4 separate regions of the Homo sapiens genome follow, and all the other regions are linked to region 2. The links are contacts of gene promoters, found by promoter capture Hi-C in blood cells and fetal thymus (Javierre and others, 2016). All regions are on one chromosome and are shown on one strand. The core of a region is centred on a gene start or on the middle of the fragment in contact, and the rest is flanking DNA. Distances in the headings are between cores, read along the strand shown.

Region 1 (5,134 bases), core at 1,483-3,982, 450 kb after region 2:
GCATGCTACGAGGCATATCAGCTGGGGCAAGTGTGCTCAGTCAGCCAGATAGACCCAGACAGACACATGCACGCAGAAAGAGCCCTAACATCACAACGGCTCACACATGGCTCCTAGTATGTGCCAGGCATCAATCCGAGCATTCCACATATATTCATTTGTTTGATCCTCACAACAACCTTATAAGGTATGTTTTATTAATATGCCCATTTTACTGATAAGGAAAGTGAAGCAGAGAGGGGGTTGAGTAATTTGCTCAAGGTCATACCCAGTAAGTGGCAGACCTAGATTCCAACCCAGGGAGTCAGGCTACAGAGACAGAACTCTTAACAGCTGTGCAGATCCATGAAACACATGCACAATGACACACACTCATTTTGGACATGCAGACATGGATACATGCCTCCTGATGAACATGGATACCTTCCCAGGTATGTATAAACACAAAGACAAGACGATGTATAAACACAAAGGGATGTATAAACACAAAGACAAGGGATGTATAAACACAGAGATGTATAAACACAAAGACAAGATGAAGATGCCCATGCACACTTGCATTCACACAGTTGGGGAGGGCTAAGTAAACCACTGTTTAACTTGTGGGCAGCAGACTCAAGACCCCTATGCAGCCATAAACACTCAGGCAGACACACTCAGAGGTAGGAATGCACATGCTGTGTGTACACGTGCTAAGACTCCTTCCACAACCAACACACAGAGAAACGGAAAACAGCAATCACGATGGATTCTTATAGTATCTGCTCAGGCTCTTAGCTGACTTCTCAGTTTCCCTTCCTCTCTACGGCAGCAGCAGCCCCAGAAGGGTGGGGGCTTCCCCCATGTGATTCCCCAACGTGTTTGGCGCAATGCCTGGTAATAACATACGCTCACCCTTTCTGGCTTTCCTCACTAGAAAGAGTGTCAGGCCCTTTGCAGTTAAAAGCTTCACTTTACAGTCAGACAGGCCCAAGATATTGCTCTCAGCTGCCCTACTTGTGAGGCAAGGGATTTCACCATTCCAAGCCCACCACTCTCCCCCTAGAACGTGTCCTAGCCACGGTGGCCATTGCTCCTGTACACCAGGGATGTGCCCACCTCAGGGACTTTGCACTTGCCTTTGCCTGGATAAATCCCTGGCTAAGTACGTTTTGTGTTGCTATAGCACTATACCACAGAATGGGTAATTTATAAAGAATGGAAATTTTCTTTGGCTCATGGGTTGGAGGCTGGGAAGTCCAAAATCCAGGGGGGCTGCATCTGGTAAGGGCCTTCTTGCTCCATCATCCCATGGCAGAAGGTGGAAGGACAAAGGGGTTGGGAAAGAAAGAGAGAGAAGAAGGGAGTCATACTCATCCTTTTATTAGGAATGCACTCTCTCTTTCTTTTCTTTTCTTGTCTTTTTTTTTTTTGGAGATAGAGTCTCACTCGGCCGCCCAGGCTGGAATGCAGTGGTGCAATCTCGCTCACTGCAACCTCCACTTTCCAGGTTCAAGTGATTCTTCTGCCTCAGCCTCCTGGGATTATAGGCACCTGACACCACATCCAGCTAATTTTTGTATTTTTAGTAGAGACAGAATTTTGCCATGTTTGGCCAGGCTGGTCTTAAACTCCTGACCTCAGGTGATCCGCCTGCCTCAGCTTCCCAAAGTGCTGAAATTACAGATGTGAGCCACCACGCCTGGCCTAGGAACCCACTCTGTCAGTAACCCACTCCTGTGATAACAGCGTCAATTCATTCATGAAGGCAGAGTCCTCATGACCTGATCATGTCTTTAAAGTGCCCCTCTTAACACTGTTGCATTGAGGATTATGTTTCCAACACATGAGCTTTAGGGGACACAGTAAAATCAGAGCACCCCTTCACCTCCTTTAGGTCTTAAATGTCACCTTCCCAGTGAGGGCTTTCCTGGTGTCGCTGTTAAATTGCAAACCTCCACTCACCTCCCTTGCTCTCTCTACTCTCGCCCCTTCACTCTGTACACTTCTCCATTCTGTTCCCTGCCCCAACAGACTTGTTTTAATTATTTATTTATTGTTCATCTGCCCCACTGAAGTGTAAGCTCCATGAGAGCAGGATTGCTTCTTCACTCTGGTGTCTCCCGAGCCCAGAACCATGCCTGGTGTGTAGCAGGAGCTCGGTGACTCTGGGGAATGCAGAATGCGCTTCGCTTCATAGAAGGGTAGGAGTAACAACGCCCTTGCAGGGTAGTTGGGAGGCTGGGGAGAATCACTCATAGACGCTACATGGGACATAGCATCACCTCAGAGCTCTTTTTTAAAACTCACATACCTATGATCTGCATGGTAAGAGTTGCATGCAGCAGCTGAGTGAACTCAGTGAACCCTGAAAGGGCCCCTTGACAGCCACTCCCCCATCCTCTTTGCCCACCCTCCTCCCCGGTTCACCACTGTATGTTGGTGGACATGTTTCCAGGCCTTTCCCATATATTTACATCTGCACAGATATAACATGTGTGTCATAGGTATGCATCATACATCAATAAGATCATTCTCCATTTATTTGATAACTATTCATTGAGCACCTACTATGTGCCAGGCATTGTTGTGAGGCATGAAAAAGTGAGATTCCTACCCTCCAGAGCTGACACTCTAACAGAGTAGCCAGCAGACAAAGCTAAAGTATTCTTCCAGGTAGTGATATTAATACATGTTATGAAAGACATACATTTAGGTAAAGGGATAGAGGAGGATAGGAGTGGGGTTGTGGGGGGGTGCTTTCAGTCCAGGGGGTCAAGGAAATGTCTCCTCTGAGGAGACATTTGACTTGAGCTTGGAGGATGGGGAGGAACAAGCCCTGCAGATATCCAGGACAGATTCTTGGTAGAGAGGACATTGGGTGCCAAGGCCCCAAGCATGGCATGAAATTAGTGGGTTGGAGAACGAGTGAACAAGCCAGCAGGGCTGGAGCAAAGTGAGCGAGGGGAGGGGCAGGAGATGGGTCAGGGAGGCGCAGTGCAGAACATATGGGGTGGCATGGGGAATGCAGGTTGGGGCATACAACCAGAGCCTCAGGAAGATGGAGCAGAGGAGAGGACTGAGCTAGGATTGGTTTCATTGGGGTTTTTTGGTGCAATTTTTTTTATTGTGGTAGAATATACACAGCATAAAACTGGCCATTTTAACTATTTTTAAGTGTACAGCTCAGTGGCATTAAGCACATTCATATCACTGTGCAATCGTTACCATCATCCGCATGCAGAGCTGTTTTATCTTTCAAAACCGAAACTGCACCCATTCAACACGAATTCCCCCGTCCCCCAGCCCCATTCTACTTTGCGTTGCTATGGATTTGACTACTCAAGATGAATCATATAAGTGGAATCATGCAGTATTTATCTTTTTGTGTCTGGCTTATTTCCCTTAGCATAATATCCTTGAGTTTCATCCATGCTGTACCGTGTGACAAAATTTCTTTCCTTTTTAAGGCTGAATAATATTCCATTATATGTATATACCACACTTTGCTTATCCATTTATTCATCTGCCAGTGGACACTTGGGTTGCGTCCTCCTTTCGGCTATTGTGAATGATGCTGCTATGAAGATGGGTGTGCGGATACTTATTTGAGACGCTGCTTTCAGTTCTTTTGGGTATAGAGCCAGATGTGGAATTGCTGGGTCCCATGGGAATTCTTTGACCTGGTATTTTATGTAACAGAATCCAGGGGCTACCAGGGGAGAACAGCCACCACGGAAGGGCAGAAGCTGGGAGGCCAGCCAGGCAGCAGTTGTTGCAAGGCGCCTTGTCTTACGTAACAACCCATCCTGCAGATCCCTCCAGGGTGGCACAGGGAGTTCTGCCTGTCTCTTTAATGATTCAGGGCACTTTCACTTTCATCCTTTATTTGGGTTCATCCCAGCTCTGGAAGTCAGGTGGGAAAAGGCCTATGATCCCCTTGGAGAGACAGGGACAAAGGGGCTCAGGGAGGGAGAGTGTCTCAGCCAATGTCACTGGGCTCTAGGACGTCCTCTAGGACGTCCTTCAACCCTGGGCCTGCCTTGGGACTGACTCTGGGGGTAGATGACTCCCCTGTGAGTCTCCCTTCTATTCCCTACTCCTGCCAGGCAAGGCTGGGCAGCTGGAGAGAGCTCACAGCCAGAGCCTCTCTGCCAAGACATTAATGAGCCTGAAATCCAACTCAGGGTATCCCTGGGACCTGGAGAGTGAGAAGGAGGCAGCACCCTAATTAGCCACCATTCTTCTCACCTGCAGCTTAGGTAGCCCACCCCGACAGCACTGCCTGAGGCTGGGGGTGTCTCCCAGCAGGCTTAGGAGCCCTGAAACTGGCTGCTATTGGCTGTGTGTCCTCTTTCTGTGCCTCAGGCCCAGGAATGCATCCTGAGGAGGACAGTGAGAATTCCATCAGAGCCACAGGAAGTCACACCCCACCCGGGCTGGGGTCTGACCTGGGTTCAGGCAAATCTCAGGGCCCTGCCTCTCCTGGGATCAGTTCCTCCCTTTTTAAACTTTCACTTTTTGGCTGATGAAGCTTTGTGGGATGAAAGGAGGAATGGGAGATGCTGCTTCCTTGGGTCGGGGGAGCAGGATGGAGAAGGGGCCAGGCCCTGTCTCGCTGGTTTCCCTCCCTCCTATAGGCATCCAGGTCCCAGTCTCTTCTGCCCATTCAGCCCCTTCCTCCTTCCCTTCCTTCCCTGCATGATCTGTCCCGCCCCCACCAGCTTAGTCAGCTCAGCCACAGGGACCTCCTTGCTTTCTTCAAACAAACCAGGAGTGGGCCTGCCTCCGGGCCTTTGCACTCACTGTTTCCTCTGCCTGGAACTCTCTGTCCCAGATTCTATCTCATGCCTCCTTTACATCTTCACTAAAATGTGGCCTTTTCAATGAGACTTTTCCCGACTCTCCTGTTTAAAACTACAAATTGCCCCACTCCTCCCTGGCAGATCTCCACACCCTTCCCTGCTTTGATTTTTTCCACAGCACTTGTCGTCACTTACCACTGGCATATATTATATTCAGTTACCATTCTCTTTCCTCTAGATTGCATGCCCTGTGAAGGCAGGAATTTCTCTCTTGTTGGCTTCTGCATCCCCAATGGCTGGCACAGAATAGGAGCTCAGTAAAGATGTGCTGAATGCACAATTTCAAGGAC
Region 2 (4,750 bases), core at 1,259-3,758:
GGGACAGAGCCATTAGTCCCCAAAACAGAGGTTCTGGTCATTTGCAGGCAGAAGCCTGTGGTTCAGGTGTGTACCCTGAGAACTCTGCCACTAACCCAGGGCTTCCAAGTGGCTTTGGGGATGGGGAATCTTGCCTCCCCTCCACACTGGGGCCCTCCTCTGTGCTCACAAACTGCTCTCCCACCCACTCTGGGGATGCCAGGCCACTTGGTGCGGATCACTGCCAGGCCTTCCTCCACTACCTTCATTTCCAGCCACAGCCCAGGCTGCCTTCTCCACCAAGGGGTGGAATAATGGAACCCCTTCTGATTGCAACAAGAACCTTAAATTAGGAGCTGGACACAGAGTCCTCTCAAAGCAGCACACCTGTCATCCCGATAGTCCCCTGGGTCACACCTGCTCACACTGACATTTATTTTCCTGTTCCCTCTGCCCTGCAAAACCTCTCCAGACCAAGTCCAACTCATTGTCTGTGACCATTTTTCAGAGTCTTCCCTATCCCAAATTCCAGACAAGACTAATCTCCTTCTCTTGTTGGTCCCCGTAGCACTTGTTTTGTATTTGTCATGCAGCTTAATAACAGTCTGCCTTGCATGCTGCTCACCTAAAAAACCGGTGGTACCAAAAAATATCAGACTAAAAGCTACCGAGGACAGAACCACATCTCATTCACCTCCATATTTCCCACTGCACCTGGCACAGCTCTTCTCCCTTAGGTGTTCAGTGAATAAATTCATTCATCCAAGAAACACTGATTGGGAACTTCCTGGCTGAGTGACTCGGAGCTGAGCTGGGAACTGCAAGTGGGACAAATTTAAGGGACTGAATGTATTCGCCTGTCTCTCCACCACCTTTTCAAAATTGATTTTCTCCCCACCAGCCTCATTCTGTTGTGACTTTAGAACATCTCTGGTTGTTAACAGAGACATTTAATCATGCCTCACAGCGGGCAGGCCATTCCTGAGAGTCCACGGGAGGTCCTGCACAGGGATGGGAGGTGCACATTCCTGGGGGCTGGGCACGTGCCTGTCCACTCCCTGGCTCTGGTTTCTTTTTGTGGAGAAAGAAAAGTCGGTACTGGAAGGAACCTCAAAACGCATTCATTTCAAAGCTTTCATCTTGAAAACTTGAGGCTCAGGGGTGGCAGAGAACACACAAGCAGTTGGTCACAAAGCTCAAATGAGAAGCCAGGTTCAGAATTGCTTTTTTATGTTCCAGATGTTATGTGCACTTATGTAGGAGCTCAGCTCTGGCAGCAGGACATGGTGGAAAGGGCACTGCTGAGACCTAGCTGGCTCTGCGATGGATTCACTGTGTGTAAGGTTCCACCCCTTCCTGGGCCTCAGCCACCTCCTGGAGGGAGGGAGATGGGCTAGATGACATCTGACCTCCCCTCTTGCTGCAGTGTGTAGGGTCCAGAGCTCCTCTTCTTAGCATCCCAGCCATGCTGTACATTACAGCAAGGAATGGGAGACAGGGGAGGGGGCCTAATGTGCAATCACCTGTCCCAGTTTTTGTGGCTTCTGAAGTAGCCAGCATTTGCCTGTTGCATTTGGCTCAGTGATGTCTTTGGCCAATCTTCCAGCAGCCCTAATCGCCATTCACAATATTTTACAAGTTTGACTCATATCTTGTTTGGATTTGGCGTCCCTGTCAACCTACTAGGCTGAGCACACAAGACAGATAATAATTAGCATGCTGCTTAGCAGGGGTGCTGATTAACAAAGGCCCATATCCTCGACAGTAAGCATAGAGTGGGGGAACCTGCACTTCCTGTTGTTCTTTGTAACCCCTGTTCCCTGGTGCTCTCCTGTGGACCAGGACATCTTGTGGCACACCTGCTCCTGCTACGGGGAGGCTTCAGCTCATCAAGTCACTTACACAGAGCCTGTCTGATGCTTCTGATGTGTAGCTTACTTAGGAGCATTCCTAATGCTCCTAAGTAAGTTGATTTGAAATAAACAATGGTTTCTTTCAAATCAACTTACATGTTACCACTCTCACTCCCTGGTAGTTCTGAGATGTGCTTCTTTGCTGACACTGCTGACAGCTGGATACAGCTACACTGAGAAACACGAGACCCGAGTCCTGTCTGCTTTGGCTTTACGGGTGGCGACGGATGTGTAAAAGAAACGCAAACACAAACAAGGCAAAGCTTGTCCTCTGCCTAAGGAGATGCGATGTCCAGCTGCACTGAACACCCTGCCCATTATTCAGAGCTACATTCCAATGATGTTCTACCCCAAGAATATGCTAGAGGGACCCAACCACCACTGAGAAAGAGCCGCCTCTGGCTAGCACCCTAAAATAGGAAGTCTGGCCTTCAGAGCCCCCAAGGCAGGCAGCTGTCCTGGCCGGACACTCTGGCTTGGCAGGCTGGCCCAGGGGAAGCACAGGCTTCTGGCAAGGACCTGATGGAGAAGATGCCATGCACTCACCAGCCATGTTTCGCCTTCCTCTGCCTCTTCTCAGGCTCCTCTGGGAATGGCACGGACAGTGCTGACAGACAGGCTGCCAAGGATTGCCTTACCATTTATAGAATCCTCTCCTACACACCCCAATTAGAATTCTAATGAAGTGGGCGAGGCACCAGGTCATTCCTGTAGTGCCTGTAAACGTTTCACTTACGACAGACTTGTCACCCAATGGACGTGCATCATGTTTGTACAAGACCAGCTTGGGGAGAAGGGGGCAGATAATAAAGAAACTCAAATAGTTCGCTTTTATAATTTTATAAAATGATGGACTATTTCCTGGATTGTAGGGTTTAGGAAATGATGACATGCTTTTCTTGCTGATCCTGGGAAGTTCTCTCTGAATCAAAGAAACGTCTCAGCAGAACCCAGAAGAAGAAAATTGTGAGGTCCTTTCTCATGATACACATGTATTAGCATCTTCCACTTGCACAGGGAAGTGAGACACATCACAGTTCATTTGTTTAGGGTTGTAGTGTGGCATAAACCATCATTTGATTTGGAATTAGAAGCCGTTGGTTCTGATGCTGGCCGAGCCCTGGGTGGTCTCCAACCCTTGAAGCCCGGAAGCCTTGCTTGTGGTTGGGGATAATCACTCCCACCCCTCTCAACTCACAAAGCTGTGGACACGATCACATGAGATGGTGCGCATGGGAAGTGTATGCATATCTACCAGGGCAGGTTAAACTGAGATCACACTTGGCGTTGAATGTCAGTTTCAGTCCAGATTTGGGGGAAAATTGTTGTTTTTAATGAGGCAGCAGGAACAGCCTCTAACCTTATGCTTCTGCCATGTCTTTCTCAGACTGCAGGTTCCGTCACTGACCCTCACTGGGCCCACCTTGACATCAGTTTAAAGAAAGGGTGTGGAGTGGGGAGAAGCTCTGACATTCTACGTGTTTTTGTTTGCTTGCTTGTTTCTAAGGGCGTATGTTTTTTCAAAGTTCCTATTATCGATATTTACAAATATCAAGGTTTACGATGGACAAAGGAGTGAGTATATATTTTTTAAAGTGAGGCTTCAAGGATTCACGAGAGAACAGAAATGCCCCAAGGCTTTCCCCAGCATCACAGTGTGGAAGGAAGATTGAGCACCATGATGACAAGGTTGGGTCTTTAGAGAGAAGTGAGAATGTTTGATCTCGAGAAAGAGAAGACGGAATAGGCAGGTGGCTTGGAAAATTGAAAAAGAGAAATCAGTGTCCTTTCTCCGTCCTTTAGGCCCCTACAGCCTTTTGTACATCTTAGAACCTCTATTACCGTATGTATCCACTGCACTGGAACTATCTGTTTATATATGTCCCCATCTCCAGACTGAGCTCCTTGAAGGTACAGGTTGCATATCATTCAAATCTTCTTCTCAGAATCTAGCACAGGGCTTGACACGTGGCTGGAACATGCACATTCTTGAATAAGTGAATCAATATCACTGTAAAGATGGGAATCATAACTACCGATTTAGTGCTTACTAATAATAACTAATTGATTTAGTGTTTACTGTGGGCAGGCACTGGCTAAACACTTTACATATATTAGCTTTTCTCATCTTCATAGCAACCCTATGCAAAGGGGCTATTATTATTTCCATCTTATGGGGGACAGAGAGATTAACCTGAGTCTCCAACCACGAGATTCATACCCATATGTAAATGGCTCCAGAGCCTGTGTTTGCTTAACCTTGGAGGTCAGCGCCTAAATGAGGCAGCCTTTCCCAGGCCTCTGGGGCTCTAAGACAGCTGGCTGTGCACCCATGCCAGGCAGAATGGGATGCACTGTTGGCTCTGGCAGATGACTAAGAAAAGAGCAGAGGGTAGAGAGGGACATGGAAAGAGCCTGGACCCAAGAGGAGACTCATGTGTGGTCTTGGCTCCTACCACGGGCACTAGCTGTGACTCTGGGCGAGGCCTCATGACGCCAAGTTCATCCTGCCAGAAAGCTGGAGGACAGCTCCATGAATGGCATGGGATGAATGGGTGTGAAAGTGCTCTGTATGCTTCTGTGTGTGGTCTAAAGGAAAGGAGGGGTTTTGCTTATTATTGTGGTTGTTGCTGTTGGCCTGGGAGCCAAGGAAAATCAGACCCCGGGCACTCCTTTCAATGACCTGACAAGGAAAGCTGCAGAGGTGACAGGGAGGTGGTGCTCCCCTTAAAAGGGAACCTGAAGACACACAGTCTTGGCTCTGCCAAGTCTCCTCACCTCTCGTAGGCTTTGTTTCCTCAACTGTAAAACTGAGTGGAATTGCTCTGAGAATCAAAGGAGACAGCAAGTGTAAAAGG
Region 3 (4,797 bases), core at 941-3,440, 340 kb after region 2:
CGGTTCTGTGTTGCCTGATGTCCAATGTCTTGAAAACTGTTGATTCATATGTTTTCCCCAGATTTTTTTGTTTCAGCTAAGAGGATAAACCCATTCTCTGTTATTCCACCTTGACCAGAAGGAGAAGTCAGTGAATGAACCCAGATCTCTTCTAGAGGAACAAATATATTTCCAGGGGTTTAAGTTGGGCAACCAGGATCTATTGGTCTAAGCCATCCTAATTCCTCTACTAAATTTTTTTTTCAAAAATACTGGATGCACCAAACAAGACCTTCTATATGCCATATTTGGCCCTTGGGCTGCAATTGTGAGAATCCTGGAAACAGGAAACTTTACTTGTTTCCAGGTATTTTTTACCTGTCATTTTAACTAGTTTAAGCCTAAAAATAGTCTTTGCATATTACTGTCCAAAGCTAGGAGTTGAAAGAAACAGGATTTGAACCCAGGTCCTCTCTGACTTCAAAGATACCATCATTTCCTTCATTAGATTCCTACCCCATTGTTTTCATTTGCACTGTTATATTTCACATTATTTTGTGTGTATTCTCCCACCCCACCACCCTGCACTTTGAGACTTCCTTGTCTTTGCATCCTCTAAGTTTAGCAGAGGGCCTGACCTGTAAGAGATGTTGAGAGAATTTTTGTGGAACAAATAACTTCTCTCCTTCTGTTTGCTCTCTTAATGTTTCATCCTCCTCTAGTCCACACCCATCTATTAAATGGGAGGTATGTTACCAGCAGCACAGGTGGGATTTAAATCAAGCAGCTGCTACCTGTGAGATGATGCCTCTGCTACTACAAGAGACCTGCCAAGACACAGAGTTCATTCATTGAGGAGAAAAGGGCTGGTTAACATTCTGTAAACACAAGCTTTGAGGGATTTTAAAAAATATTTAAAGTCCTGAGATATTGAAGCTGGGACATCCAACTTCAGTAGTCATCAAAGAAATTCAAATTAACAAACAAAGTATTGGCATAATTTTAAAAAACCAATAACATGGGATATTAATAAGAATATAAGGAAAAGATGACCTCATATACTGCTGGTAGCATTATAAATCAGTATAATTTTTCTGGAAGGCCATTTAGCAAAACATATCAAAAGTTTTAAATATGCTCATGTAATTTTTCTCAGCAATTTCACATTTAGCACATTATATCCTAAGGAAATAAGCAGACAGGTGCACTGTGATTTATCCATGAGAATGCTCATTGCAGCACTGTTTAGTTGAAGACTGTGGACTAGATAAATACATCACTATGAAGGATAAGCCCACAGCCTTTGAAAGCAAATACATTGAAGAATAATGACTTGAAAAATGTTTTTGAACAATTGTTAAGAAATCTTGATTAAACAATTATATGCATATTCATCATAATTAATACTTCTTGTGTGCTTTACTAATTAACTCATATAATCCTTATAATAATAATAATCTTATGAGGCAGGTACTGTCCTTGTGGACTCAGAAGTTGCATCATGGAGAGGCAGCCTAACTTCCCTGTGGGCAGGTAGTGGGTGGCAGAGCTGGATTCCAACTACTGGTGCTCAGGAAATCTTAGAACACTGAGTCCAGTGCTTCCCAAGGTGTGGTCCCTGGACCAGCAGCCCCACATCACCTGGAACTTGTTAGAAGTGCCAAATCCCAGGCCTGGTCCCAGACCTCCTGATCAAAAGCTCTGGGGGTGGGGCCCAGCAATCTATGTTTGAGCAACCCTTCCAGGTGAATGTATGCTCAGTTTTGAGAGCCACTGTGCAATTGTAAGGGCCGAAGGGAAGCTTCTCCTCTGTCCTCTTAAGGTTTGCTGAAAACGAACTATAATAGACAGATTAGTAAAAGAAAAAGGCATATGAAATTGTATTTAACAAGGCCAGGCATGGTGGCTCATGCCTGTAATTCCACACTTTGGGAGGCCATGGTGAGAGGATCACTTGAAGCCGGAAGTTTGAGACTACCCTGGGTAACAAAACAAGATCCTGTCTCTACAAAAAATTTTTTTAAAAAATTAGCCAGGCATGGTGATATGTGTCCACAGTCCCAGCTACTTGGTAATCAGAGGCAGGAGGATCACTTGAACCCAGGAGTTTGAGGCTGCAGTTGAGCTATGATTGTGCCACTGCACTCCAGCCCAGGCAACAGAAGAACATCTTGCCTCTCAAAAAATAATAATAATAATAAAATAAATTATTTAATGTGAGTAACACAGGGGAATTATAGGAGAATGATTACCCAATAACCCTTATATGCCCTTCTTCATCGGGGAAGGGGAAATGGGAGGTATAGGAGTAAGTGACTTTTTAGGGGAAATGAGTGATCCTAAAGAACAACTGCCTGAGACAAAATTCTTCTGAGCTCTGGGGGAGGTGGCGGGAAGGTAAGGGGCAGACCTTCACTGTAAACAAAGATTGTCTTACTATGCAGATGAAGCGTCCCAGGTGATCTCTAGGAGCTGCTCTCAGAAAAACAAATGAAAGTCTGTCTGAGCACGGTGACTACATCTAGTCTCTTTTCCAGTGGTTAATCTTTCCTGGTTATTTGATGAGATTCCTAGGGACGGGGAGTTTTAAGAAATTGCATTTCTCTTGGAAAGAAGCTTTCTTAGGCAGATAAGAAAATTCCAGCGACAGCCCCTCCTGGTGCTTTGGGAAAGTAAGAGGATCAGAGAGACAGGGAGGCAGGGCAAGGTCAGAAAGAGACCTTGAAACCGCTTCTTCAGTTCAGCACGTCAAAGCGCCAGATTCTGGGGTATTATTTTCTGAGCCTGAATACAACACTATTGCATCTTTTCTCGAAATTTTGTAAAAAGAAAGTATATGTATGTATAAAAAAGTCTGATGGATTGGTCATTAAAATATTAACAGTGTCACTTCTGAATGGTGGGGTTCTGGGTGATTTTTTTATATATATTTTTTTGTTTTATAATTCCAAAAGGTACATAATGAACTTCTGCATCCAAAGTAAAAGAAAAAAATACATGTTCTTTAAAAAAAAAAAAAAAAGAAGAAGGGGCCAGGCACAGAGGCTCACGCCTGTTATCCCAGCACTTTTTGGGAGGCCAAGGTGGGTGAATCACTTGAGGTCAGGGGTTCAAGACCAGCCTGGCCAACATGGTGAAACCCCATCTCTATTAAAAATACAAAATTTAGCCAGGTGTGGTGGCACAGGCTTGTAATCCCAGCTACTTGGAAGGCTGAGGTGGGAGGATCGCTTGAACCAGGGAGGTGGAAACTACAGTGAGCTGAGATTGCACCACTGCACTCCCCTGGGAGACACAGTGAGGCTCTGTCTCAAAAAAAAAAAAAAAAAAAAGGAACTCCGCTTCAATACTCAGTGAGATGGTATATATTTTGGGTAGAAGGGAAGTAGAGAAGAAAATGGTTCCCCTAAATCATACAGCAACTCCAGCAGTTCTTCTTCAGTGTGAATGAATCACCAGGGGGTCTTGTGAAAATGCAGACTTGGCCGGGTGCGGAGGCTCACGCCTGTGATCCCAGCACTTTGGGAGGCCGAGGCGGGCGGATCACGAGGTCAGGAGATCGAGACCACGGTGAAACCCCGTCTCTACTAAAAATACAAAAAAATCAGCCGGGCGTGGTGGTGGGCGCCTGTAGTCCCAGCTACTCGGGAGGCTGAGGCAGGAGAATGGCATGAACCCAGGAGTCGGAGCTTGCGGTGAGCCGAGATCGCGCCACTGCACTCCAGCCTGGGCGACAGAGCGAGACTCCCTCTCAAAAAAAAAAAAAAAAAAAAAAAAAGAAAGAAAAAAAAAGAAAATGCAGACTCAGTGAGGCTTGCGGCTAAGATGCTGCACTCCCAACCAGCTCCCAGAGGATGCTGAAGATGCTGGTCTAGAGTCCACACTTTAAGAAACAAGAGACCAGAGAGACGGAGGCTCTTAATCTCCAGAATGCAAGCTTCACGAGGGGCCTGGTCCCATGATGTGTTTCCAGTGCTGAGAACGGAGCAAAGAATAGTTATCTAATAAATAGATGGAGGTGCGGCAAGCCTCCTCATTCCTGGGGACCCAGAAATGGGGGTTCTGGTCATGGTTCTGTATCTGCTGCCAGTAATACCTTTGGCAAGCTGCGGCCTCCCTGTGATGACAACTGTCACTGGGCAGGGTGACAGCTCTGGACCCTTCTTTCCCATGACCCAATATGCAAGACCGGTTCAGCCTGGGCCAGGGCTACCCAACATGTCAGTCTTGCACCAAACAAAAAGTACCAGGAACTTGGTAACACAGGTGTTCTGAGAAGCCCAAAGAAAGGAACTAGAGATGAAGAAATATCTAAGTTGAGGTTTCCGTAGAAACATTAACTCATCTGCATAGGCTGCATGCTGCATTTGGATTACAGGTTAGGCTCGTAAGCCTGAAATAAATTATATACTCTTCGTATTATTCAACACTGTACTGTATAATAATAAATTATACAGTTATAGGCCTCAGCCCAAGTTATAACAAATTATACCACAGTGTATAATTACCCTGCACTGCACCATATAATAATAAATTAGACAGCTACAAACCTAAGTTGTGACTCCAGAAAGAGGAGAATGAATGGGGGCTACTGATCCATTCCTCTGACCAGTCAGATAAGCCCGGAGCCTGAGAATGAAGAATTTAATTGCTTATTCCTTCCTTCCTCCCTCCCTCTCTTCCTTCCTTCCTCCTTCCCTCCCTCTCTCTTTTCCTTCCTTCCTCCCTCCCTCCCTTCCTTCCTTCCCCTCTTATTCCTTCCTCCTTCTCTCTCTCCCTCCCTCCCTTCCTTCTTCTTTTCCTTCCTTCCTTCCTTCC
Region 4 (5,224 bases), core at 2,138-4,637, 490 kb after region 2:
ATCCTGCAGAAGGGGTGGGTTTTGGAGGCACAATCAGGAGTTCCATTTTGGACAGGTGAGATTTGACATGCCTGTGTAACACGGACGGAGCTGTGGAGTTAGTAGCTGGGCATGAGGCTGGAGTGCAGGGGAGACGCCTGGCCCGGAGTCACCCCAGATGGTGAGTGAGATCACTTAGGATATGATTGTAGATGGTGAGACATGGACTAAGGTTCTGATATAACAGGAACTGGGCCAGGCCATGTCTTCTGGGCCTCGTCACCTGGGATTGATGGAGGGATGTCCTGATCCTACCTCCCTCTCCATTCACCACTTCCAAATCTTAGCATTTACCCTAAAGATAAACGGGAGAGCTGAGCTAGCCTAATTTTGGTTGAAAAGAGCAGAGCCTCTCTCCTAACTTGAGCCATGGGGGTTGTTGTAAAGCTACATGCAGGGACTGGAAGGCAGGAATTTTGACCACACATCACAGAATACAACTTAGCCACTGGAACATCATTCAGGACCCAGTGCTCTGGGACTGAGTCAGTTCATAGTCATCTCAGGAGCAGACGTTTGTCAAATTTCTCCTCCCCCTTGTCTGTCTTGGAAGTTTGGCTTACTCATTGCCCCTGTGCCTTCACATTTGTTTGAATTATGTCATCTTTTAGGGTCTTTCAGCTTGTAGGCATCATCCCAACTCTTTGTGGTCCAATTCAAACTGGCAGCCACCATCACTGCTGATGAGTTTAGTTAATTGGGCTCAGCCCTGCTGGGTGGAGCTTCTGTCCCAGGCTGTATCACAGGCTGCTCAGCCTATATTTTGGCAGTCTTTGGGTCAGGTGGCTCTTCCTGCCCCCACCAGGTGTTGTGGAAGTGTGGAGATATTGGGTAAAGAATTCAAGGTCAATAATAGTAATGTCAACAGTAATAGTAACAGCATGGCTATTGATTAAGGAAGACTGCATCAGACAGACTGGGTTCCGGTTCAAGCCCAGCTTCTACCACTTACTATGACCTTGGGCAGCTCGTTCAGCCTAACTGCATCCCCATCTCTACATCTACAAGTGGGAAATAATAATGTTAACTACATCTTAGCATTGTGGTGAGGAGTATATAAACTAATCAAGAAGACTCTTATGGCATATAATTTAATCAGGGCTCAAAAAACACCAGTCACTCTTACCATGACTATTGGTTGAACAGTTCTTCTGTGCTAAATGAGGTGCTTTAAAGGCGCACATTCTCATTTGATTCCTTATAAAATCCCAATGAGACAGGTTCTTTTTTCAGCCCCAACTTATAGCTGTGAAACTGGAGGCAGAAGTGATATGACTTATCCAAAGGTCCTTCAGCTAGTACGAGATGAAGCTGGGACACTCAAACACAGGTTTATCTGGTTTCAGAACCGGTGGTCTCACTGTGTCCCCCCAGCGGGGCATATAGAATATGTAAATGCTCACCCTGGGCCACTTCCTCTGCAAGACTGTGGGCAGGAGCCCCCACAAGAAGGTGCAGGGCACTCCCTGATCCTCCACAACCCCACTCCCTACCCCAGATCTTTCTGCCTTCCGAGGAGATAATGCCTAGTCTTCTAAATACTACTCAGATCCAGTGGGATTGTGCCCCTCGCCTGCTCTGCCCTGCAAAGGCCATTCCTATTCCTTGTCCTGTGTGGTCCTCAACATTTCAATTACTTAGCAAAGCAGGGATTATTTCCTCCCATTTGACAGATGCAGAAACTGAAATTCACCGAAAGGATGGAACCGTATTCTCCCCAGTCCTTACAAGGAGCATTTGGAGAAAGGCAAAACTGAACTTGAGGGGAACAGGGAGTCACTGCATGTCCTCGAACAGGGGTGAGGCAAAGGCAAGAAAGACCGGGGTCAGAACAGAGAAGCTTGGAGCTGGAGCAGAAAGGTGCCTCATTTAACTGGGCCTGTGCCCTGCTTAGCAATGTAGCCAGTTCTGCAAAGTCTCCTCCAGACTTGGGGTTCAGTCAGGGTGTAAAGGAAATAGAATGATATGAATTCCTGGTGCCAGTTTAATTTCATGAAATATGCCAGCATGGCCCTGGGGCTTGATGCAGTCTTCCCTACTGAAGGATCACAGCGGGAAGGGAGCATCTGCAGGCTCTTGGCTCACATTTGTCACCTGTAACCTTCACACACCAGGCACAAGTCTTGCCCATGCTCCGGGGCTGTCATCCATAAACAGTCCCTGAGCTTCACATGTGTGGGTTTCACAGCACAGCTCTGGAATCTGACAGTCGAGGGTTTGAATCTCAGCCTTGCACCTACTCTCTGTGTGGCCCGGAGCAAGTCATTTAACCTCTCTGGGTTTCTGCTTCCTCGTCTGTGATCCTCACTCAGTGGGATACTGCGGAGATCAAGTGAGATATGTTCATTTAGTGCTTGGCACAGTGCCTGGTGTGTGGCAAACCCCATTACTGTTTCACACAACACAAAATAATTCGGACACTTGCTGTTGGCATAGGAATGATTAAAAGATATACGGTATAGGAACATAACAAATAATAAAAAAGGAAAGATTATTTTGATGACAGAGTGGAAGATGTGTTAGGAAGGAGAAGACTGGTATAGAAACATCTCTGCTAGGAACAGTGTTTGGCTGTTGGTAGCAAAAACAACAACAACAACAACAAAACACCTAACCATGGAATAGATTTTAGTTGGTCCTCAATACCCATGCTCCCCTTCTTCCTTAGTCAACAAAATCCCTAATTTTCATCAGAATACATGGCTTGCCTCCTGCAATAAAGATTACAGTTTCCAGTTTCCCTTCCATATCCTAGGTATGCCCATGTAAGTTCTGGCCAATGGAAAATGTTGTGTGTGACTTCCAGAAAATGTCTTAAAAGGGAAGGTAAACACCTTCCTCCACCAGTCCTCCACACTTTCTGGAATTTGAGACATGATGACTACATCTCAAGCAGCTCGGACCATGTGATAATTTAAAGATGGCTGTGGATTCTTTGATCCTCCTCCCTTTGAGAGGAGTCAATTTCCCCTGTACTTAAATCTGGGCTGACCTGTGACTTCTTTGACCAATAGAGTATGGTGGAAATGATGTCACGCCCACTCCAGGCCTAACCTCTAGGAGGACTGGCAGTTTCTGCTATGGCCTCTGGGAGCCATGAGCTGCCATGAAAAAGGTCAAACTACTCTGCTGGAGACACCCACCTGGAGAAGCCCTGGGATTCCATGGAGAGGCAGACGGACCCAGCTGAGCTCAGTGTTCCAGCCATCCCCACGAAAGCACCAGGAACCTGAGTGAAACCATCTCGATCCTCCAGCATAGCACAATCAGCAGCTGAAGATCACTGAGTGACTCTAGTCGGCGCTCCATGGATCACTGAAGGATCACCCAGCTGAGCCCTGCGCAAATTTCTGACTCACAAAACTGTAGACGATACAATGGTTGTTGTTTGGGGGCAGTTTGTTATGCTGTAGCAATAAATAGCCAGAAGAGACCAAGAGGCAGAAGTTGTTTGCTGAAAATAATGCAAAAATTATACCAGCCCTTGCCCAGCTACCTCCGGATTTCTTGCTACATGAAAAAAAAAAAAAAAATCCCTATTTGTTTAAGCCTCGTTGACACCTTGGGCTATTGCTCAGTCCTCAGTTTTCCATTTGTTAAATGGAGCATTAGCTCCTGTCTTACTACTTCCCAAAGGTGCCTGAGAGGGTAGAGTAAGAATGAAGAAGAGAAGGCCTTTTTCATGTAATATAAACAGTGCTTATGTTCCCAAAGATCAGCGAGTGACATGCTCAAACAGTTATAATATATTTAATGTGGTCATAATGGGAGTGAACTTGTCATGAACCAATTGCAATGGATTTTGGAATCAGACACGTTAGGGCTTGAGGCTCTCAGCTCTGCTAGACAAACTTCTAACTTGACAAATAGGCCAGTCATTAAATCTCTCCAAGCCTTAGTTCCCTCATCAATAAAGCACAGACGATGTGATTTCCCTCCGTTGAGTCTGTGTGAGGATTAAATTAAATGAGATTCATCCATCTATTTGATAAATATTGAATATCTCCTAGGGTCTAGGCCAAACACACTCTTGATATTGGTGGAGGCTGGTGTCCACTCACCCTTAAATCTAAATATTTAAAAATTATAAATCAGACCAATACCTTCTCTTAAATGTTCTATCCTTCTCCTCAGTAAGTATAACTTCTCAGCAGCCTGAAAGGCCAGGATTGATTTGGATTTCTTAGATACTCGCACTGAAATGTGGCGGTGCTGGGGAGAGCCAGCCCCATTCCCTGGTCGCTCATTTCCCAGCCTATAAACTGCCACCTTCCCTTCTCATCCCCAGCTCCATCCTGTACCGTGCACACCTCACCTGCATGTGTGTAGACATCCCAGGCTGCAGGTCCAATCTCCATCCACACCCTATCCTCTGCAGTGCCCCTTGGCTACACCCTGGGCTTAGTGTTCTGCCTCCAGACAATAGACCAGGAAGAGGCCTGGCAGCAGGCTTGGGACTTTTAGGTAGGGAGCTCAGGAATCCTAGGAATCTGTAGTATTCTAGACAAGGAGCAAAGACTTGGATGGGTATATCCCCTTGGCACTGCAGACTCTCTAGCCTGTGGGGATGTACGCAGCTGGAGGCTGGCCAGGGCAGAGCCCCGCTTGCCTGGGTCCAAGGATGGGCTGGTCAGCCTGTGCTAGGTGCTGCAGGTACATGAGTAGATGAAGCAGATACCACCCCTGCTTCTCCTACTCAAAGGTGAAGACACATCCCTGAAGTCAGGGCCTCAGTCTTAGCCCTATCTATAAGATGAGGGCTTACCTGATCTGACATCAGGTAATGTTGGAGACTTGGTGTACGTCCTCAGGAATGTCCTAGAAGCCAGGAGGTCAGATGAGGAGGGGCAAGCTTAAGGCCTAAGCAATCAACTTCCTCCTTGAACCTAAGGCTGGCAAGGCAGGAAGGGCACCCACCCTCTGGTCCAACTCCATCCACGCAACTCCTTCAGTGGCCATAACAACACAACTTCCCATCACACCTAGAATAAAAGTCCAGCTCCTTGCCGAGACCTGCAAAGCCTGCTACCCCCAGCTGCTGACCATCTCCAGTCTCCTTACTACTGCTCACTGAGTTCCATCCTTATGTTCATGAAACCCCACATCTACTCTCCCACCTCAAGGCCTTTGCCCTTGCTGTTTTCTCTGCTGGACACGCCCAGCTCTTTGCATGGCTAGTTCCTCT

Evidence for each region. The method cuts DNA at HindIII sites, captures the fragments that hold promoters and counts their contacts. A CHiCAGO score of 5 or more calls a contact.
Region 1: a contact is called between a fragment that was not itself captured here and the fragment with the promoter of TGM3 in region 2, in 2 of 17 cell types (neutrophils and monocytes). The highest score is 6.4, in neutrophils.
Region 3: a contact is called between a fragment that was not itself captured here and the fragment with the promoter of TGM3 in region 2, in 1 of 17 cell types (M1 macrophages). The highest score is 5.1, in M1 macrophages.
Region 4: a contact is called between a fragment that was not itself captured here and the fragment with the promoter of TGM3 in region 2, in 1 of 17 cell types (neutrophils). The highest score is 6.5, in neutrophils.

Annotation. Positions count from the first base shown.
Region 1 is chr20:1,840,595-1,845,728 of GRCh38, reverse strand. No RefSeq gene overlaps it. Among named protein-coding and RNA genes, the nearest start is that of SIRPA, 52 kb to the left of the region's middle. The HindIII fragment of the contact is 3,567 bases long and covers 949-4,515 here.
Region 2 is chr20:2,293,759-2,298,508 of GRCh38, reverse strand. TGM3 (transglutaminase 3) reads right to left here and starts at 2,508. Exons shown (of 13, transcript NM_003245.4): 1 at 2,439-2,508. The coding sequence starts at 2,445. It overlaps LOC105372503 (a long non-coding RNA gene), which reads left to right. Exons shown (of 3, transcript XR_937203.3): 2 at 1,219-1,317; 3 at 2,015-2,688. RefSeq lists enhancers at 738-1,270, 1,271-1,804. The HindIII fragment of the contact is 7,559 bases long and covers 2,158-4,750 here.
Region 3 is chr20:1,953,162-1,957,958 of GRCh38, reverse strand. All of the region lies in intron 2 of PDYN-AS1 (PDYN antisense RNA 1), which reads right to left. Among named protein-coding and RNA genes, the nearest start is that of PDYN-AS1, 8.4 kb to the right of the region's middle. RefSeq lists an enhancer at 3,357-3,446. The HindIII fragment of the contact is 815 bases long and covers 1,783-2,597 here.
Region 4 is chr20:1,804,629-1,809,852 of GRCh38, reverse strand. No RefSeq gene overlaps it. Among named protein-coding and RNA genes, the nearest start is that of SIRPA, 88 kb to the left of the region's middle. The HindIII fragment of the contact is 3,012 bases long and covers 1,882-4,893 here.